3 separate regions of the Homo sapiens genome follow, and all the other regions are linked to region 1. Evidence: promoter capture Hi-C in human tissues and cell types (Jung and others, 2019). All regions are on one chromosome and are shown on one strand. Each heading gives the region's core, a stretch centred on a gene start or on the middle of the fragment in contact. The rest is flanking DNA. Distances are from core to core; before and after follow the strand shown.

Region 1 (3,344 bases), core at 150-2,649:
GTTCCTCTGTGCAGCGTTTCCGCTTGGCCGCGTCCCCCCACCCCACCCCACCCCACCCCCGCTTCTCTCGCCTACCGGGTGCACTCCCCCTCCCATCCCCCTTAACTCTTTCAGCTGGGTTAGAGCTGAGAAAGCATTTGTCGCCGCCAGCCCCATCCACCACGCAAATCCATCTGAGACAGAAAGGAAAGAAAAAAAAGCACCACCATGCCTAAGAATAGAGAGCGAGCAAACCCCCCCACCGCTAATCACACACACACACACACACACACACACACACACACACGAGGAAGCGGTGGAGCAGAGAAGGGCGCGGCTAGCCGATCCCGGTTCTTTCGCCCGGCTCCTGCTGCCACAGGGAATTCCTAAAGCCATTGGGGTCGAATACACTTACGATGAATCTATGGGGGAAGGTCGGACTGATTGCTTTTCAAATACATCGCACGGCTCCGCTGACCGGCACCCTCCAAACTCACAAGGGCACGCACGCTACTTGCACGAATCCCAGAGGAGGGAGGAGGGAGGAAGGGAGGGAGAGCGAAGGAGGGAGAGAGGGGGTGGAGGAGCCAGGGAGCGGCGGCAGCGAGCGGTCCGTCTCGCACGCGCGGGCACCGCGCTGGTCCTGGGCTGCAGGTTTCCCAGATGATGGCATCCGAGAACTTAAACAAAGGGGGCTGCCGCCGGCGCGCAACGGCTGCGGAAAGTTGCGGTGGCGGATTTCCAAGGAGCGTGGCCACGACCAGAGCTCTTGGCGATGCGAGCCCCCGCTTCCCACCCCCGCCGATCAGAGAAGGGGGCCGGCTGGTGAAGGGAAGAGGAAACTTTGAAACCACTGGGGACACATCTGTCTATAGGTATTAGCTTGAATGGTACATCCGTGCCGCGCGCTTTACAAATCTCTGGCGGGGCGGGGGTAAGGGGGTGAGCAACCCGACGCGTACTAGGTGGGGTGGGCAGGTTGCTATTTTTCATGTTTCCCCCTTCGTTTTCCTTCTGATTCTCTTCCCCCCTCTCGTCCCTCCCTCCCTTTTATCTCCCCTTTCTTCCCCCCGCCCAGACCTATTGCGAACGCCCAGAGCCGCCGAGGGAACGCCAACGTCTGGGCCGGACACTAAGAGTTAAGATGTGGCGGAGGGGGCGGCGGGGGAGGGGCGGGGAGGGGAAAGTGGTGAGGGGGAGGGAGGCTGGAGGACGACAGATTTCCAGCTTCTACGACGCTCTGCCTAAATTAAAAAGCAACCAATCGGAACGGCCGGAAGGGGGGCCTCGCGTCCTGAGCCAGTCATTCCGAGCCTGCCAATCACCCAGCGGGTAGCCAATCAGCGGGGGCCCTGGTGCTCGACTTCCTTGTATTTGGGAAAGTGTGGTGGTGGGTGCGCGCTCGCGGCGGAGGGTAAACATTCGACAGTCCCCGCTCTGAGAGGGAGGGACAGAGAGCGAACTGTCAGATCGGAGCGAGAGCGGGCGCCCGAGAGAGGGAGAGAGAGAGAGGGAGGGAGAGGAAAAGTGAGAGAGGGAAAGAGAGCGCGAACGAGGGCGCAGAGCGAGCTCCTGCTGCAACTCTGCTCCAGCACGGCCAGCGCCAGCGCCCGCCGTCGGTGCACTCTACGAGCCGTGCAGCGTGCCCACTGGAGTTGTTGTGTATCAAGGATCGATCCCCTATATGCACACACACACCTCCACCTCCACCAATGCACTCTTCTTCCTCCTCCTTCTCCAGACAACTGCTGGGAAAAAAATAAAACACCAACCCCAACCGTCAGCAACAAGGTAACAGAGCGATTCGACATCATTTTTTTTCCTGTTCAATTTTTTCCTTGTTATATTTGTTTCCTAATTTCTGCCCAAAAGGAAAGATGTCGCATCAGACTGTGACTGTTGCGAGGAGAATGAAAAAGGACTCTTGTTTCAGAGGCAACCAAGAGCTCCGGCAATAGCAACTTCAGAGAAATGCACCATCGCAAGAAGTTTTCCTAGGACAGAACAAAACTTGAAACGAGAGGACCAGAGGGGGAGAGCAGGAGCCAGCCTCCCCTCTCCGCACTCGCGAGCAGCCAGCAGCACCACGCCTTCAAGGACGAAAAAGTTTTACTACTCTAAGGGAAAACGAGTGAAATGTGTTCCTGAGGAGGAGAGGAGAGGAGAGGAGAGAGCGGACAAGAGAAGGAGCGGGCCGGTTGCTGGTCATCCGTAATTTGGCTAAGGAAGAAAGGAGCAGCTTCTTTCTTTGTTATCTCCCGTGAAACCTTCACTTAGCAGGTGGACGGAGCCCCGCGACCGGGCAGAGTCCGGGCTCGCCCGAGGACAGGAGGAGGAGCGGGAGCCCGCGCGTCCCGGGAGAGCGCCCCGAGTGCAGGTCCCCGCCCCGCCCGGCGAGCCCCGCTGGAGCGAGCCCAGCGCGCCGGGGCTGGGGGGCGGCCACGACCCCCCCTGAAGGGGGTGGCCACGGAGCGCACCCCGAGAAGCGAGCCCCCCTCCCCAGAGCGCTGCTCCTGCGGCTGCTGCTGCTGCTGGTGACCAAGGCCGGCCGGCGACCCCCGCGCCCTGCCGAGCGGCCTTGCAGCTGCAGCCGGGGGCCGCGGCGGCGGCGGCGGCGGCGGGGGCGGAGGCGGCGGCGGAGGAGGAGGCGGCGAAGGCGGCGGGGCCGGCGGGGGCCCGGGGCGGGGGCGGGGAAGGAGGGGGGGAGGAGGCGGGAGGCGGGGGGCGCGGCGGCGGCGGCGGCGGCGGCGGCCGCGGCTGCTGCTGCGGCGGCGGCGGCGGTGGTGGCGGCGGTGGGGTGGCGGGAGCGGAGCGGCATGGCCACGGCGGCTTCTAACCCCTACCTGCCGGGGAACAGCCTGCTCGCGGCCGGCTCTATTGTGCACTCGGACGCGGCAGGGGCTGGCGGCGGCGGGGGTGGCGGCGGCGGCGGCGGCGGGGGCGGCGCAGGGGGCGGGGGCGGCGGCATGCAGCCGGGCAGCGCCGCCGTGACCTCGGGCGCCTACCGGGGGGACCCGTCCTCTGTCAAGATGGTCCAGAGCGACTTCATGCAGGGGGCCATGGCCGCCAGCAACGGCGGCCATATGCTGAGCCACGCGCACCAGTGGGTCACAGCCCTGCCCCACGCCGCCGCCGCCGCCGCCGCTGCCGCCGCCGCCGCCGTGGAGGCGAGCTCGCCGTGGTCGGGCAGCGCCGTGGGCATGGCTGGCAGCCCCCAGCAGCCACCGCAGCCGCCGCCGCCACCGCCGCAGGGCCCCGACGTGAAGGGCGGCGCCGGGCGCGACGACCTGCACGCGGGCACAGCGCTGCACCACCGCGGGCCGCCGCACCTCGGACCCCCGCCGCCGCCCCCACACCAGGGCCAC
Region 2 (3,466 bases), core at 60-2,559, 1.6 Mb before region 1:
CAGGCCATAGTGTTAACAACGTATTCTTGGGGACAGAGTAGACCAGAAAGATGACACTGAGAGGCTAACTCTAAGGCAAAGAAAACAGAATTGACGGCCATGCGTATTGGCTCATGCCTATAATCCCAGCACTATGGGAGGCTGAGGCAGGCGGATCACTTGAGCTCAGGAGTTTGAAACCAGCCTGACCATCATAGTGAAAACCCATCTCTACTAAAAATACGAAAATTAGCTGGGCATGGTGGCGGGTGCCTGTAATCCCAGCTACTCTGGAGGTTGAGGCAGGAGAATTGCTTAAACCTGGGAGGCGGAGGTTGCAGTGAGCTGAGATCGTGCCACTGCACTCCAGCCTGGGTGACAGAGCAAGACTCCAACTCAAAAAGGAAAAAAAAACAAAAACAAAAACAGAGTTGATGAGAAAGAGCAGAGGAAACAGGAGCACAGAATCACTGGGTTAAGGATGGGGAAGGATGGGGCGGGATGGGGACATATTGTGGTTATTGATCAGGTAGCAGGGTTGAAACAAGGGATAATCAGGTAAAAGTCAAGATAAATAACAGAGAAAACAAGTATTGGGAAAGTTAGTTGGTGGCTAGGCAATTACTTTTTGTCATAAAAAGTCCTGCAAATACTATGTAGTACAAAGAATCTAGGAAGCAATGCTGTTTTGTTTGTGTTAATGAGCACTGTCCAACAACAGCTGCTGAGAATCTCTCTCAGCTCCTGGCCATGAGGGTAGGAGAGTGTCCATGAAGTAGTTACACCACCTGTTGAATAAAGACAGTTGAATCTTCACAGTCAGCTCCCTCTCATTTTAGTCTGAAGAAAGTGCCTCTTCTCTTACCCCTATTGCTTACCTGAAACCTTGAGAACAAGTCAAAGGGGCAAAAAAAGAAGACATTCAATTGCTGTGTGTTATAATTTTCCTTGACAATTTGGTTGAGAAACATTGTTTGTTGCAGATCATGGGACAACCTTTTGAGACCACTTATATCCAAAGATCGAGTTGAGTGAGTGCTCTTTGGAAAGATGAGTAAGGATGGGAGTGAAGTTAGGACGCTTCACTTGTGACCATTGATGACTTAAGTTGCCAGTTCCCCTCCGTTAATGACAGATCACACTTGACAACATCCTGAGGCACAGAGTTCCATTTTCTGAAATTACCCAGGGCAGAAATTTACCCATTTAGCACTGTCATTCCTACTTTAAGTGGCCAAAAGGAAAGAAAATTTCTTTTTATCAGAAAACACTGAATTCAGTTATGGAAAATGAGTGAGCTTCATTCTGATAATGTATACGTGGTTACTGTTCAGGATCGCCTCTGGTGCCTGGTGTCAGTCAGCCACAGTGATGAGCATGAGGGCAATGAAACCCAGAGCAGTCAAAGAGATCCCTGCTCTTTTGCATTGGTGGCTATTGTCCAGTAGGGGCCAATCTGAGCTCTTGGATTTAGTTTAGAGAGGAGGCACTACGTGCATAGAGGCCAGAGAATGACACATTCGCTGGGTCAAACTTGCAGCTGGCTCAGGATTTTTAAATGAAATTTCAATTAAAATGTTGGTTTGGTGTTTTCATGCATTCAGGCAGGGAGTAATCACTTCTGTCCAGTTAAGAGAATAAATGGGGCATTTGTTTACCCAAATCAATAACAGCAACAGTAATTTGAAATCTTTGAAAATATTTATGCTGATAATGTAAGAGACTACATAGGTGTGAGTTGAAAAGTAAATATATAAAAATGGATAACATGCATCAGATACCCATGTTGGGAAAAAATTCCGTGTATTTTTTCTTGACATATTCAATATATCTTAAACAAGGGTTTACAATTACCGGTTCAGAAGCTTCCCCTGCCTTCTTTCCACCCAAAAACTTACAGAAAAGCAAAACTTTACTAACACAAATAAGAGCTCTGAACAGCATTTGAATTCCCATCACACCACACCTGGTAAGAATCAATCTACCAGAGCGTCATCAATCATGCTGAGGCTGTCAGTTTTGACATCCTTTAAGTGTACGTTGTGTGCTTAGTGACTACATGACAGAAAATGTAAACAGACACCACAAATACAGGTATTCAGTACATATATGTGTGTGTATGTTTGTATTTGAAATATTTGGTATAAAGAAGTACAAAAAATTACAGCACACAAAACTGTCCATTAAAACACACACATGCACACATGAATGCCTGCCTGCCTCTAAGAACAAGAATGAGAAAACAACAAACAGAACAAACAAAAACAAGCAATTTGTCACACAAAATCACAAAGCTCATTCAAATAATTTACCCAAAGCAAAACGAAGTAGATCAAGTAACTGATATCAGTGTGTGCCCACCGATGAATAGATTATATTCTTATTAGCCATCCCCTTCACCCTTCATGGTGACACATCAAATTGTGACTTACTAATAGGCATTCGGAAATAGCTGGTGAGCCCAGCACAAGCCCTGTATTAATAATTCATCAGGTGCAAAAAACATGATGGTGAAGTACTTGAATATTTGAAAGCCCATGTGCATTTTTGGTTCAAACACCACCACCACCAATGACAATCAACTCAGTTTCTAATTCTATTATTAGTAGATTGCTCATTTTAATTGATTTCAGGAGAAATGTTATTCTTTTGACAGCTTATTTAATATTATTATAGCATACCCCGATTATTGAGTTCAGCAATTTTTCTCATATTTCAGAAAAAGGTATCATTTGATGTTTTGCAAAGTGCCTATTTTGAGGGCTCAGTTACATATTTATACCTGTAAAAGCCTCCGGTTCCCTTTTCCCATCCTGTACATTTCCTCCTCCCAAACAGAGGTACAGATGTAAGAAAATTTGGAATGCTAAATGCAGAACAACAAAAATAAAAAACTCAGGAATTAAAACTCCAAATTGAACCACTCTCTTCCACAAAAGTCACAGAATCTGTTTTGCTGCCAATACATCGTTTTGGACTTTGAAATATAAGGTAAAGTTCAACTATTTTCTTTTATTTTTGTATTAATTTTCTCATCTCTAACTTAGTAGATTCAAGTGTAACAGTTTCTGTAAAACTGAATCATAGCAAGAAATGTAGTATTCAAGTTTCTTGAAATATTCTCAGGATGTCAGATTCATTTAATAGCAAAATTATATCAATTTAAAAAGCAATGGAAATGCAAGAGGAAGATTATATATACACACACACTCACACACACACATTTCTGCATGTGTGAAGAAAAGTTTTCATTTCTATGTAATTTTTTGTTACCAAACCAGAATGGTAGACTCTGCTATTAATTTTGCATTGTCAAATAATTTGTCTCAAGCAAGACTTCTCAAAGTTCTGGAATAACCAACATATCTGGCCATCTGCATGACTTTAAGTCTATGCTCTATCAGATCTCCACATGGACATAATATACAGCAACAAATACTTCTTCCCTGAAAGCCTAGTTTCAAGGGATAATTTATATGTATCCACA
Region 3 (3,582 bases), core at 570-3,069, 1.9 Mb before region 1:
ATGTATCCCTGTCGTTATGTGACACATAATGACACATATGCCTCTGTGTGTGTGTATATATACATATAGTTACATACATATATGTATACACATGCATATATATACTAAATATTCTAATACATTATTGTTTCTATTTTGAAAAAAATGTTGTCTGTTATATCAATTAATAATAAAAAATGTTTTTATTTTACCTTCACTTATTCATTCTCTGATGTTCTTTCTTTTTAAATTTACATCAGTTTCTTTTTTATATCATCTTCCTCTTCTTTGAAGTTTTGTTTAATATTTATTGCAAGGCAGGTCTACTAGCAAAAAATTTGCCGCATGTTTGTTTGTCTAACAAAGTATTTGTCCTTCATTTTACAGTATAAGTTCATACAGTACAGAATTCTAGGTTGGTGAGTTTTTTTCTTTTCATGCGTTAAGTGTTTCTCTCCACTGTTGTCTTATTTGCATGGTTTTTGAGAAGTCAGACATAATTCTAATCCTTGCTTCTCTATAGGTAAAATGTTTTGTTTTGTTTTACGCTTCATATTATCTGAGTTCCTGGACCTGTGGTTTTCCGTCTGTTATTAATTTGGGAAAATTGTGCCTTTGGGGGAATTTGTTGAGCTTATGGGATCACTGTCATACATGTAGGCTGTCTTTGACCACAATGTCATTTTGTGATGCATAGGTGTAAATATATATGCTTATATGTAAGTGAAATGAATAAAAGCAATGATCCAGGGACAAAAGGAGGAATGAGGAATATTTTGTCATTATTGCTTTAAATGTTGCTTCCCTTTCTTTCTCTCTTAATTCTTTTTCTGGTGTTCCCATGAGTCATTTGCTACATGTTTCGTAGCTGCTCTGCAATTCTTAGATACTCTGACTTTTTGTTTTTCCCCTCTTTTTCTCAGTATTGTAAGTTTCCATTGTGATGTCCTCAAGCTCAGAGTTTCTTTCCTTACCTGTGTTTATTCTACTTATAAACTCATCAAAAGCTTTATTTTTGTTACAGTGTTTTTGATCTCTAGCATTTGTTTTTTATTGGCATGTCTCTGCTTACCTTATCCATCTGTTCTTTCATGTTGTCTACTTTTTCCATGAAAGCCCTTAGCATGTTAACCATAACTTAACAAAATTCCTGGTTTGCTAGTTCTGACATTCCTGCTGTATCTGACTCTTGTTCTGATGCTTGTTCACGCTGTTCAACTGAATTCATTATCTTTTAATATGCCTTGTAATTTTCTGTTGAAAGATGGACATTAAATACTTGATAAAAGAAGAATAGGCATTTAGCAATATAGTGGTAAGGTGTGTGAGAGGGGAAGTGTTTTACGGTCCTATGATTAGGTTTCAGTCTTTTCATAAGGCTCTGTCTCTGGACTGTGATTTTCACAAGTTCTTCTCAGTTCTCTCCCATCCTTAGGTGGGACAGGATGGCTAGTGGGGCCTGGAGTTTGACATTTCCCTTTCCCCAAGTAAGTTAGGTTCTAACAAAACTCCAGAAAGTTTGGTTCTGACTGAGTAGTTTCTGCTGAGGGCATATCTTGTTAAGGAGCACAGTATGCTCTGGGGCAGGGACCCCCAACCACTGGGCTGTGGAGTGGTACCAGTCCGTGGCCTGTTGGGAACTGGGCTGCACAGCAAGAGGTGAGTGGCAGGCAAGGGAGTATTACTGCCTGAGCTTTGCCTCCTGTCAGATCAGCAGCAACATTAGATTCTCCTAAGACTGCAAACTCTATTGTGAACTGCTCATGTGAGGGATCTAGGATGTGCGCTCCTTATGAGAATCTAATGCCTGATGATCTGAGGTGGAACAGTGTCATCCCGAAACCATCCCCACACCTCATCTGTGGAAAAATTGTCTTCCACAAAACCAGTAGGTGCCAGAAAGGTTGGGGACTGCTGCCCTGGGGTGTTCAAAAATGGTTACTTTACCTCTGCTCCTGCTAGAATCCTGAGAAGATTTTTCTCTGATATTCACAATGAGAATTTGATGGTGTCTCAGGAGATAAAACCCACAAAAGTGTGGGAGCCCCACATGATTTTGTTTTAATTAAGAAAATTTTAATTTAGACAAATTTAGGAAGAGAATACCACCTGGATGTATTCTGTGCTACTGCCAAGGTTATAGAGAAAAACAGTAGAGGTTGATAATGTCCACGTACCATTCCGAAATCCCTGATTATTAGAGTAGTGAGAACTGGGATGGAATTTTAAAATCTTTTTAAAAAATTTAAGATTAAGAAAAGAAAATTTTAAGAGGCAGGGTCTTCCTCTGCCACCCAAGCTGGAGTGCAATGGCATGATCATAGCTCACTGCAACCTCAAACTCCTGGGTTAAGGAGATCCTCTTGCTTCTGCTCCCCGTAGTAGCAGGGATTACAGGTACATGCCAGTATGTCAGCTTAAAGAAAAAAAAAAAGTGCAGAGACAGGCTTTCACTTTGTTGCCCGGGCTGGTCTGGAACTCCTGGCTTCAAGCAATCCTGCCTTAGCCTCCCAAAGTGCTGGGATTACAGGCATGAGTGACTGCGCCTAAACCCCGCAGGACTTTTTAACTTTCAGATTTGCTCACAGAGTCCTCCAGAAATTAGTTGCTTAATTTCCTTACCCTGGCACTGGTTTCGACTTGTGGTTTCTGCTCAGGTTAAGTTGTGATTCTCTGTATTCACCTGTTTGTTTGTCCAATTCAGAGGTGGAAGTTTGTCCTGTGACTTCATTTCTCTGACTTATCTAAGAAGAGTTGTTGATTTTTCAGTTTTATCTGCTTTTTATTTCTTACGAAGGAGTGGTAACTTCTAACCTTCTTACACACTGTATCTAAAGCACAAACAGTTGTGTTTTAGTACTGGAAGTTCTATATTTCTGGAAACGTCTTAGTTCTGGATACACTAGGATAGTTAGCTACCCTAGGAATATAGCATAATTTATTTACCCATTTTAATTCAACATAGCACTGAAGTACTAACAAGAGCAATTAGGCAGAGAAAGAACTAAAAGGCATCCAAATAGGAAAAGAGGAAGTCAAAGTGATTCTCTTTGCAGACTAAATGATCTTATATAGAAAAAACCCTAAAGACTCCACCAAAAAACTCTTAAAATTGATAATGAAGTCAGTAAAGTTGCAGGATACAAAATCAACATACAAAAATCAGTAGCAGCTGGGCGCAGTGGCTCATGCCTGTAATCCCAGCACTTTGGGAGGCCAAGATGGGCAATCACTTGAGGGCAGGAGTTCGAGACCAGCCTGGACAAACAGGCGAAACCCCTTCTCTACTAAAAATACAAAAACTAGCTGGGAGTGGTGGCAGGCTTGTAATCTCAGCTACTCAGGAGGCTGAGGCAGGAGAATCGCTTGAACCCAGGAGGCCGAGGTTGCAGTGAGCCGAGATCAGCCACTGCACTCCAGCCTGGGTGACAGAGCTAGACTCTGCCTCAAAAAAATAGAAATAAAAATAAAAATAAAAATCAGTAGCATTTTTATACACCAATAATGAACTTGCTGAAAAAGAAATCAAGAAAGCAATCCCATTTAAAATAACTACAAAAATAAAATAAAATACCCATAATAAATTTAACCAAGGAGGTGAAA

What was found. The method cuts DNA at HindIII sites, captures the fragments that hold promoters and counts their contacts. A contact is called where the count stands out against the background at its distance.
Region 2: a fragment that was not itself captured here is called in contact with the fragment with the promoter of POU3F3 in region 1 in 1 of the 25 tissues and cell types used here (dorsolateral prefrontal cortex).
Region 3: a contact is called between a fragment that was not itself captured here and the fragment with the promoter of POU3F3 in region 1, in 1 of the 25 tissues and cell types used here (dorsolateral prefrontal cortex).

What each region holds. Positions count from the first base shown.
Region 1 is chr2:104,852,716-104,856,059 of GRCh38, forward strand. POU3F3 (POU class 3 homeobox 3) reads left to right here and starts at 1,400. Exons shown (of 1, transcript NM_006236.3): 1 at 1,400-3,344. The coding sequence starts at 2,796. It also overlaps a transcript of PANTR1 not described here. RefSeq lists an enhancer at 1,004-1,593. The HindIII fragment of the contact is 12,067 bases long and covers 1-3,344 here.
Region 2 is chr2:103,283,538-103,287,003 of GRCh38, forward strand. No RefSeq gene overlaps it. Among named protein-coding and RNA genes, the nearest start is that of LINC01935, 300 kb to the left of the region's middle. The HindIII fragment of the contact is 6,261 bases long and covers 1-3,466 here.
Region 3 is chr2:102,997,558-103,001,139 of GRCh38, forward strand. No RefSeq gene overlaps it. Among named protein-coding and RNA genes, the nearest start is that of LINC01935, 15 kb to the left of the region's middle. The HindIII fragment of the contact is 4,212 bases long and covers 1-3,582 here.